Regions from separate parts of the Homo sapiens genome. Here region 1 is linked to region 2. Evidence: promoter capture Hi-C in human tissues and cell types (Jung and others, 2019). All regions are on one chromosome and are shown on one strand. The core of a region is centred on a gene start or on the middle of the fragment in contact, and the rest is flanking DNA. Distances in the headings are between cores, read along the strand shown.

What was found. Contacts are between HindIII fragments. The study calls those that stand out against the background at their distance.
Region 1: a fragment that was not itself captured here is called in contact with the fragment with the promoter of DCT in region 2 in 4 of the 25 tissues and cell types used here (lymphoblastoid cells, neural progenitor cells, pancreas and 1 more).

What each region holds. Positions count from the first base shown.
Region 1 is chr13:94,584,522-94,590,016 of GRCh38, reverse strand. All of the region lies in intron 4 of TGDS (TDP-glucose 4,6-dehydratase), which reads left to right. Among named protein-coding and RNA genes, the nearest start is that of TGDS, 8.9 kb to the left of the region's middle. The HindIII fragment of the contact is 8,575 bases long and covers 1-5,495 here.
Region 2 is chr13:94,476,505-94,482,284 of GRCh38, reverse strand. It overlaps DCT (dopachrome tautomerase), which reads left to right and starts at 2,603. Exons shown (of 8, transcript NM_001922.5): 1 at 2,603-3,324. The coding sequence starts at 3,030. The HindIII fragment of the contact is 3,749 bases long and covers 1-3,530 here.

The DNA.
Region 1 (5,495 bases), core at 229-2,728, 110 kb before region 2:
CTTTATTCTTGATGGCCATTTGGGTTCTTTACACTTTGGAGCAATTTTGAGCACTACTACCTTGAACATGTATCATGATACATAAGTATACATTACATTTGGCTATATAACAGATCATAAGATCTGCATACTTCACGTTGAGATAATGTCAAAACATGTTCCAAAGTAATTATACCAACTTCCACTCCTCCAGAAGTGTGTGACTTCCTGTTGCTCCAGATATCACCAAATCTTAGTTTTGTCAGTCTTTCCATTTTTGCCAATTTCAGTGCTGTGTAGTGGTTTCTCATGTTTCTAATTTGTATTTTCCCTGATTACTAATAAGATTAAGTACTTTTCATATGATTTTTTGTAATTTGGATTTCTCCTTTATGAAATGCTGTTGAAATCTTTTGTCCATTTTGGCCGGGAGCGGTGGCTCACGCCTGTAATCCCAGAACTTTGGGAGGCTGAGGCGGGTGGATCACGAGGTCAGGAAATCGAGACCATCCTGGCTAACACGGTGAAACCCCTTCTCCACTAAAAGTACAAAAAATTAGCCGGGCGTGGTGACAGGCGCCTGTAGTCCCAACTACTCGGGAGGCTGAGGCAGGAGAATGGCGTGAACCCGGGAGACAGAGCTTGCAGTGAGCTGAGGTTGCACCACTGCACTCCAGCCTGGGTGACAGAGAGACTCCATCTTAAAAAAAAAAAAAAAGAAATCTTTTGTCCATTTTAAAATGGGATTGTTTACCTTTTTCTCATTGAAAGAGAAGTTTCAATGAGAAAAAATGGCAAGTAGAGTTTTTATATATTCAGGACACTAGTTCTTTATCATTACATATGTTACAGAGCCTTCTCTGTATGGCCTATCTTCTCACTTTTTTGACAGTGTGTTTTGATGAACAGATGTTTTCAATGTATGTTTTTTCCTTTATGCTTAATGCTTTTTCAGTTCTTAAATTCTCTCCTACCCCAAGGTCACGAAGATGTATTTTTGTATATTATCTTTTCAAAGCTTTATAATTTTGTCTTTTATGTTTAGATTTGTAATCCATCTGAAATTAATTCTTATATAACCCCAATTTCATGTTTTTCCATGTGAATACCAATTGTTCCTGTACCATTTATTGAAAAGTTCACCAGTTTCTGCCCTCCGTCATATCAAGTTTATTTTTGTATCTCTGTCTCTCTTCATTTATTTGTCTCTGCCTGTCTGATTACGCACTATATTGACGAATACAATGATTTCATGTCTGTTAAAGCAAGTCCTTCTACTTGGTTAATGATAAAAGCAGTTGTGCACTTCTACCAGCAATTTATGAGATGCTTGCCAACACTTGCTGTGTCAATTTTGTGGTTTTATTTTTCCCTGATGAAGTTAAAAACCTTTCCATTTGTTTATTGGACTATTCTCCCTCTCTTTGTTAGTATATCCTCTTTGGAAAATTTCCATTTAAGTTTCGTGACCATTTCCTATTAGGTTGTCAGTTTTTTCCTTATAGATTTTTATAAGTCCTTTATGTATTTTGGATCCAAGCCTTTTGCAGCTACCTTTTTTTCAGTCTGCTTTGCCTTTTTGCATTCTTTTTTTTTTTTTTTTTTTTTTTTTTTTTGAGACAGAGTCTCGCTGATTGCCCAGGCTGGAGTGCAATGGCATGATCTCAGCTCACTGCAACCTCCGCCTCCCAGATTCAAGCGATTCTCCTGCCTCAGCCTCCTGAGTAGCTAGGATTACAGGCATGCGCCACCACGCCCAGCTAATTTTGTATTTTTGATAGAGATGGGGTTTCACCATGTTGGCCAGGCTGGTCTTGAACTCCCAACCTCAGACGAGCCACCCTCCTCAGGTGATCCACCCGTCTCAGCCTCCCAAAGTGCTGGGATTACAGGCGTGAGCCACCACGCCCAGCCTTTTCCCGTTTTCAATGGTGTCTTATTATTAGTGAAAGTTCTTAATTACAATGTGGGTTAATTTATCTTTACCTTTTTCTTTAGGGGTAGTGCTCTTTCTGTCTCTTTTTTTTTTTTTTTTTTTTGAGATGGAGTGTCTTGCTCTGTCACCCAGGCTGGAGTGCAGTGGCGCAATCTCGGCTCACTGCAAGCTCTGCCTCCTGGGTTCATGCCATTCTCCTGCCTCAGCCTCCCGAGTAGCTGGGACTACAGGCGCCCGCCACCACACCCGGCTAATTTTTTGTATTTTTAATAGAGACGGGGTTTCACCGTGTTAGCCAGGACGGTCTCGATCTCCTGACCTCGTGATCCACCCGCCTCAGCCTCCCAAAGTTCTGGGATTACAGGCGTGAGCCACCGCACCCGGCTCTGTCTTGATTAAGAACTCATTTCCCACCTCCAAGGTCATGGACATGTTGTCTTATAATTCTTTTCTTAAAAGTTATTGTTTTTCCTTTTACATTTAGATTTCTTCCCCATACCCATATCAATTTGACTCAAAATCATTTATTGAAAAGACTTGACTTTTCCTCATTGTCAGTTTTGTCATGGGTCAAATGTTTATATACGTATGCTTTTGTTTCTCGGCTCTATTCAATTCTGTTGGTCTTTGTCTGTGCTTATACTATTATCACACTGTCTTAATTACTGTAGCTTTATAATAATTCTTTATACCAGCAAAGCAAACCTCCCACCCTGTTGTTCCAAAAAACAACATTTGACATTTGACATTGTTGTTCCAAAAAAACAATCTTTGACATTGTTGATCTTTTCTTATGCGTGTTTGTTTTCTATATAATGAATTTCTGGTCTTACCTTTATTATTTCATTATTTCTACTTTGTTTAGGCTTACTTTCTATTCTTTTTTCTAATCTTTGTGATATATTTAGCTTATTAATTTTCACGTTTTCTCTAATGTATGCATTTTAGACTATAAATTTACTTCTAAATACTGGTTTATCTGAATCCTACAGGTTTTCATATGTATTTTTTCATTATCTTTTAAGAGTTTGATTTCTTGCTGGGTGCAGTGGCTAACACCTGTAATCCTAGCACTTTGAGAGGCCAAGGCAGGCGAATCACTTGAGCCCAGGAGTTCCAGACCAGCCTGGGCAACATGGTGAGACCCTGTCTGTACAAAAAATAATAATAAAAAATAAAGCCAGGCATGATGGCATGTGCCTGTAGTCCCAGCTACTTGGGAGGCTGAGGTGAGAGGATCACTTGAGCCCAAGAGGTGGCGGTTGCAGTGAGCTGAGATCGCACCCCTGCACTCCAGCCCGGGCAATAGAATGAGACCTTGTCTCAAAAAAAAAAAAAAAAAAAAAAAAATAATTTGATTTCTTCTCTCATCCGTGGGTTACTTAGACACGTATGTCTTAATTTCCAAACATGTATGGGTTTTCTTGTTCTTATGGAATTCTAGCTTAATTGTATGTGATTAGATAACGTACTCTATGATTGTAGTCCTTTATGCTACGACTTGCTTTTTGGTTCAGTATATGGTCACTTTCCGTAAATCGTGTGTGTATTGAAAAGAATGTTAACTTGCAAACATTGGGTCCATTGTTCTTTACACATCCATTAGGTTAAGTTGGTTAATGATGTTCTTTAAATCTCTTGTATATTTCTGGTGAATTGAACCTTTTATACTTATGAAGTGATCTTTTTTCCCCGGTGATGTGTACTGCTTTAAAATCTATTTTGTTTGACATTAATATAGCTGTGTTACTTCCTTTTTGGTTAGTATTTTCATGATACTTTTTCCATCTTTTTATTTCCAAACTTTCTCTAGTTTTATGGGTTAGCTGCATGTCTTGTAAACAACATGTATTTGGATTTTGATTTTTTTAAACCCATTCTGACCCTCCTCGGCATTTGCCCTCAGTGTTTAGTTTGTTGCTGTATTTGGATTTATTTCTACCATCTTACTGTACGCTTTCTTTTCCCACCTGTTCTGTTTCCTTGGTTGCTGCTTACTTTTTTTAAAAAAAAGAATTATTCCTTTGTAAAAAATTGTTTATTTTAAAAAACTGCTTGCTTGCTTTTTTTAAGGATTTGACTGAGGAATTTTTCTTATTCTCTTTTTCTCCCTCTACTAGTTTGGAAATTATATGTTCTGTTTGTACTCTTGGAGTGGTTACTCTACAAATTACAGATGTGTAATTAGCTTATCAAAGTGTAAAGTTCATCAAAACCTTTGCCCTCTTCCTATTTAATTTCCAACTCCATTTTTAGCTATTTTTAACTCAGTTTTTATCTGGATTTTTTTTTTTTTTTTTTTGAGACAGAGTCTTGTTCTGTCACCTAGGCCAGAGTGCAGTGTTGTGATCTCGGCTTACTGCAACCTCTGCCTCCCAGGTTCAAGCAGTTCTCGTGCTTCAGCCTACCAAGTAGCTGGGATTACAGGCGTGTGCCACCACGCCCGGTTTATTTTTTTGTATTTTGAGTAGAGACGGGGTTTTGCCATGTTGGCCATACTAGTCTCAAACTCCTGACCTCAGGTGATCCACCCACCTGGGCCTCCCAAAGTGCTGGGATTACGGGCATTAGCCACCATGTCCTGCCTGGAATTTTAAATTGATCTTATTTTATTTTGTTTTTTTATTTCCACTAGATGACATTATTACTATTTTATATAGTCAGTAGTCATTATATTAGGGGTTTACAAAATGATATCCTAATTATGTCATTCTTCATTTATACCTGGAATATCTACATAAAAAGAAGTTTTCCAGCCAGGCGCAGTGGCTCACGCCTGTAATCCCAACACTTTGGGAGGCTGAGGTAGGTGGATCACCTGAGGTCAGGCGTTCAAGACCAGCCTCGCCAACATGGTGAAACCCCATCTCTAAAATACAAAAAAGTTAGCTGGGCGTGGTAGTGGGCACCTGTAACCCCAGCTACTCGGGAGGCTGAGACACAAGAATGGCTTGAATCTGGGAGGCAGAGGTGGCAGTGAACTGAGATTGCGCCACTACACTCCAGCCTGGGCAACAGAGAGAGAGAGAAAAAAAAAAAGTTTTCCTTATACATTATTTGGTTACCTTGAGATTTAATTGTTATGGAAAAGCCAGGTTAAGTGCCTGATTATTTTTATTTATTTAGTAGATTTTACTATAATGAGTTGGTTTCCAAGCATCCTCATTTTTCTTTTTTCTTAATATTGCTATGAATTTGTAGATTTTAACACATTTGATTTTGTTTGTTTTAATCATTTGCAGTTATTTTTCTTATTTATGTTCAAAATGACTCACCATTAGCCATTGAGAGGCTCTTCTAGTTGCTTCCTGAGTCCTTTTTGACATGACCTTAGCAGTCTTTGACAACCATCTAACTTTCTGGTTTGATAGGATGTTTCAGTTTTATCTTCAATGTTTTTCCCCCTAGATCTGGAATCAGCCCTTTCTGTCAGGAGCCATTGTTCCTTTTGGTGGGAAATGGTGTTTAGAGGCCACAGTCTGGGCACTGGGAGTGCTTATTAACTGATTGGACATTGTGTCAAGGCTTTTTCAGTTAACAAAACTAGGGAATATTATTTGCCTATTTACTTAAGATTAAA
Region 2 (5,780 bases), core at 1,354-3,853:
TCATGGAGGATCTTTTAAGCTAGTTCTCAAACTATCCATGGTAAATGATTAAAAAAGAAAAATGTTCCAGCCACAGACTAACACGTGATCCAACTGCACATGACTCATTGCATTCAGCCTGTGCTCCGTGATCATCACCATGCACGTTTGGCAACCTCACAGCCGGACTCTCCCCTCTTGAATGAAACTACTGATCGTATGCCTGAATGTTATCCCAATGTCAAATTGCTATGAAAATTTCCCAGTGTTGACTCTCAATTTCTATTCTTATTGTTCTTAACTTGATGTAAACCAGGAACACACCATTCACGGATCTGTTGGCCACACTTTGAGTAGCACATGCAAAGCACCTCGGATTTTACTTGAAGTGCATTGGAAAGCACACATGGGGAGGTGGGAAAGAGAAGACTCAAAGATCACTTGTAGGGTTGTGGTGATGCTGCTCTTTGTGGAGATGGAGAAGACCAATGGAGAACACATTTGGGAGGAGAGAGCAAAAGTTCTCAACTTGGGTGAGAAATATCTAAACCTTCAAGTAGAGAGGTCCAGTAGGAAGTTAGATAATATGAGTCTGGGGCTCACAACTGAGGTCAAAGTCAGAGTTGTAATTTTGGAAAGTCATGATAGCCTGCATTTAAGGCCTCAGACTAGCTGAGTTATCTAGCAAGTGTGGAAATGAAAGAAAAGAGATCCTAGGACTTCGACCTGGGGCATTCTGACATAAGAATTATTGACTCCATCAGTTTTAACATCCAAGAAATTTTATCTTAACATTTATGGAGCCCCAAGGCTTCACAAAAACCTGGAATAAAATTCCCAAGTGTCACAATGCTGGCATGAAGTGGCAGTCAATAAATATACATGGAATGAATGAATGAGCTCCAAAATAAAGGTTTCAAAAACCCCTGAGATTTTGCGATTTTAGAACCCCAAGTTTCTTCCCACCCATGATGTGTTAGGTTGAATGGTGACTTCCCCAAAAGATATGTCCATGTCTCAGAACCTGTGAATGTGACTTTGTCTGGAAAAAAGAGTCTTCTTTGCAGATGTAATTGAGTGAAGAATCTTGAGATGAGATCATCCTGGATTATCTGAGTGGGCTCTACATCCAATAAGTGTCCTTATAAGAAACAGACATGGAGGAAAAACACAGACAGATGGGGAGAAGGCCATGGGGCTGTGGCAGACATTGGAGCTGCGGTTTCAAGCCAAGGATTGACAGCAGCTGCCAGAAGCTTGAAAAGGCAAGGAGGATTCTAGCCTAGAGTCTCCAGGGAGAGTGCAGCCGCCTGGCTGACACACGCCAGTCCTGCCAACACCTTCATTTTAGACTTCTGGCCTTCAGAACAGTGAGAAAATAGATTTCTGTTGTTTTCAGTCATCCAGTTTGTGGTCATTTGTTACAGAAGCCTCAGGAAACTATTGCACATGGTCTCTTTTAGCTGATGCTGATGCAATATTTCCTTTGGAGCTCTGCTGTATTCTGATTCAGTGATTCTCAACTCTGGCTGAGCATTAGAATTGCCTAGATGTTTTCTAACAAAGGTTGGTTGGTGTCTGGAACATCCTCAGAGATTCTGATTCAGTAGGGCTGTGGTACAGGCTGATATTGGTGTAGAGTCAGACATAAGAATTGCCATTTAATTAGTCACAACAACTTAACATCAAGGGGTGGCACAGAGGTACAGGGGGTGGGAATACCTATATAATTGTTTCACCTTAGGAATTTGCTTTGAAACATAACAATATGTGTCTTTACATTCAAGTATATTCTTAGAAACTAGCTGAAGCCGTTTCGCATCCTTGTGGCACTAAGTCCTGTTTCCACTGTGAAACAGTTACCAAGACAGTCCTGTTTCCACTGTGAAAAAATAAATGGATGTTCTGACAGGTGGCCACCATTGCTGACCTGACCATTCTCCAGAAGCACCAGGAGGCATTGCTTTCTAGACTGAAGCTCAGTCATGCTTCACTTTAGTCTAATCAAAAAGATTTGCTTGCAAGCCTTCATTCCAAATGGTTCCAGTGCCTTCCATACAATCAGATAATGACAATTGTGAGTTTCTGGTGGCATGCTACTTCATGTAATTAAAAAAAAATTGCTGCGTAGATGTGCTGAATAGGAGAAGAGTAAGTTATTATTTGGAGGGAAGAGGATTCCCAATTGTGGAACAAAGCAATTCCTTGTACCCTGGTTCTACATAAATGTTTCTTTATTTTTGAAGTTGCATGACCCCCTGTTGTGGTCTTTTTTGCACACATGTCAGAAAGCAGCCATGAGTGCATTGTAGTTGGCAATGTGAGCTTCTGTGTAAAGGGTCTTTGACGAAGAGCTCACTGCATCTACTGACTCCCCAGGATGTCTGAGGTCACAAGTTTGGCTGGAGCACATGAGCCCAGATAAAGAAGATGGTTTTGCCCTCCTGAAATAAAGCCAGAAGTGATCTCCTTTATTGTGCACTTTGGGTCATGTGCTAATGATGAGGGTTTCTGTAATACTAATCCCCCTAATGAAGGCTTCTCCCAGCCCTTACACAAGCCCCCAAGGCCCCGTGGCTTGGCAAGCCAGAGAGAATAAAAGCAGCACGGTGTTTGGCTTTTGAACTGAGTTCAAGGCAATTAAAGTCAAGAGCTAAGGAGGGAGGGAGAGGGTTTAGAAATACCAGCATAATAAGTAGTATGACTGGGTGCTCTGTAAATTAACTCAATTAGACAAAGCCTGACTTAACGGGGGAAGATGGTGAGAAGCGCTACCCTCATTAAATTTGGTTGTTAGAGGCGCTTCTAAGGAAATTAAGTCTGTTAGTTGTTTGAATCACATAAAATTGTGTGTGCACGTTCATGTACACATGTGCACACATGTAACCTCTGTGATTCTTGTGGGTATTTTTTTAAGAAGAAAGGAATAGAAAGCAAAGAAAAATAAAAAATACTGAAAAGAAAAGACTGAAAGAGTAGAAGATAAGGAGAAAAGTACGACAGAGACAAGGAAAGTAAGAGAGAGAGAGAGCTCTCCCAATTATAAAGCCATGAGCCCCCTTTGGTGGGGGTTTCTGCTCAGTTGCTTGGGCTGCAAAATCCTGCCAGGAGCCCAGGGTCAGTTCCCCCGAGTCTGCATGACGGTGGACAGCCTAGTGAACAAGGAGTGCTGCCCACGCCTGGGTGCAGAGTCGGCCAATGTCTGTGGCTCTCAGCAAGGCCGGGGGCAGTGCACAGAGGTGCGAGCCGACACAAGGCCCTGGAGTGGTCCCTACATCCTACGAAACCAGGATGACCGTGAGCTGTGGCCAAGAAAATTCTTCCACCGGACCTGCAAGTGCACAGGTGAGGCCCATGCTCCAAGCTTGGTGGGGAGGGCCAGAGCTGGGGAAAGAGCTCCTTCTAAGGAAGAGATGAGACTCTTGACAGAGACTCTTAGATTAGGCTTTGAAAGGCAAACCAATGATGGTTTTGGTCGGAAGCATATTCAATAAGGCTGATGTGCTGGTTTATTCTTCACACCCTCTAGTACATCTAGTTATGAAGACTAAATAAATATGGCGTGGGCCAAGCCTGCTTATATGAATGCATGCCAACATACTATTGGCTTGTTTGTTGGAAGGGGAATTTAAGAGCTTAAAAGCGTCAGCTTTGAAACTCGGAGCAAGTCCTTTCAAGATGGATTCGGTGCCCTCTCCTGAAATGGGTTTGCACTTGTTGAAAAGGGATGGGTGAAGCTTGGCATTCGGAAGACAGGAGTCAAAGGCAGGTGTTCTGGTCTCAGCATTTCTCATGATTTGAACAGATCTCTCTCTCTCTCTTTTTTTTGGAGATGGAGTCTCGCTTTGTCACCGTGGCTGGAGTGCAATGGTGCTATCTCAGCTCACTGCAACCTCCATCTCCCGGGTTCAAGTGATTCTCCTGCCTCAGCCTCCCAAGTAGCTGGGATTACAGGCACCCGCCATCATGCCTGGCTAATTTTTGTATTTCGAGACGGGGTTTCACCATGTTGGCCAAGCTGGTCCCGAACTCCTGACCTCAGCAGGGTGCATGTTTCTCATTAAAGCTTATGACCAGGTTGTAACTTTGACAAAATTGTCGAGACGTGGCAAGACAGAGCTTTCTCGAGGAGCTGGGGGTGGGGGGGGCGGGCGGGGGGTTGTTATTAGATAACAATGGCTTTTTGTCACTCTTCTCTGGACTTGAACCGGACATCACAAAATTTGCTCAGTGTCCTTCCTTTAGACTCTGGTCTCTCTCATTACCTGTTGCTTTGACATCTCTGTGCATTTCTCATTCCTCTAGCTCTTTGGGGCTTTTTCAAATCCTCTTCAATCTTTCCCACCTCCAGTTTCCAGCAGCCATATGCCCTTCGGGAATAAACACTCAAAGCCTGGCAGGGGGCCACTGAAATACAAAAAACACAAGTGGCAACCTCAGGAAAGCCCTTGGACACTGTTGTAGGCTGGGTGGTTGCAGAAGACTTTTTCCTTTTAAAAATACTTTTTACTTCTCTTCTCATAGGATGCTGGAACATAGGAGGATATAGGTCATTGAGCTTCATAAGGGGTTGAATAGGTATTACTAAGGGAACATACAAAGGCCTGTGATGTTGGTGTAGGAATGACATTCGATTTTTTTTTTTAATTTTAACTTTCAACTTTATTTTAGATCCTGGGGATACAAGTGCAGGTTTGTGACATAGATATATTGCACAGTGCTAGGGTTTGAGATATGATTGATCCTGTCACCCAGGTAGTGTGCGAAGCACCCAGTGGGTAGTTTTTCAACCTTTGACCCCTCCCTCCCTCCCCTCTCTAGCAGTCCCCAGTGCCTATTGTTGCCATCTTTATGTCCATGAGTGCCCAGACATTAGATTTCTTTTTTCACATTAAGAGTTCTGGCTTTAGGCCTGGTGCAGTGGCTCACGCCTGTAATCCCAGCACTTTGGAAGGCTGAAGTGGGTGGGTCACTTTGAGGTCAGGAGTTTGAGACCAGCCTGGCCAACATGGTGAAACCTTGTCTCTACTAAAAATACAAAAATTATCTGGGTGTGGTGGCAGGCACCTGTAATCCCAGCTACTCTGGGGGCTGAGACAGGAGAATCTCTTGAACCCAGGAGGCAGAGGTTGCAGTGAGCAGAAATCACACCACTGCACTCCAGCCTGGGTGACAGAGTGAGATCTGTCTCAAAAAAATAAATAAATAAATAAATAGTTCTGGCTTTATAATCATTTTGTAGTAATATTTTTAATTCTGTCATTCAGAAGAATATCTAGGTCCTGGTTTTGCCCTGGGTATTAATCATGACAAAAATTTCAATAACATATTGGATATATATTATCCAGCTTTTCTAAGTTTTTTAAGCATTTGCTTCTATAGACCTTCTCTCAAAATTATCATGGTGTTTTAGACGAATGAGGAGCAGGTTGCTGGTGTGGTTAGCGTGATTGAAAACCACACTAACACAGTAACTTCTTTGTTCAAAACCCCAAAATACTTCTAGAACAATTATTTCTATGTCAATCAATGAAAAAGTGCTGGCCAAGCGCAGTGGCTCACGCCTTTGGGAGCCAAGCACTTTGGGAGGCCAAGACGGGTCAGGAGTTCAACACCAGCCTAGCCAACATGGTGAAACCCTGTCTCTACTAAAAATACAAAAATTAGCGAGGTGTGGTGATGGGCACCTGTAATCCCAGCTACTTGGGAGGCTGAGACAGGAGAATCACTTGAACCCAGGAGGTGGAGGTTGCAGTGAGCTGAAATCGCGCCACTGCACGCAGCCTGGGCAACAATAGAGT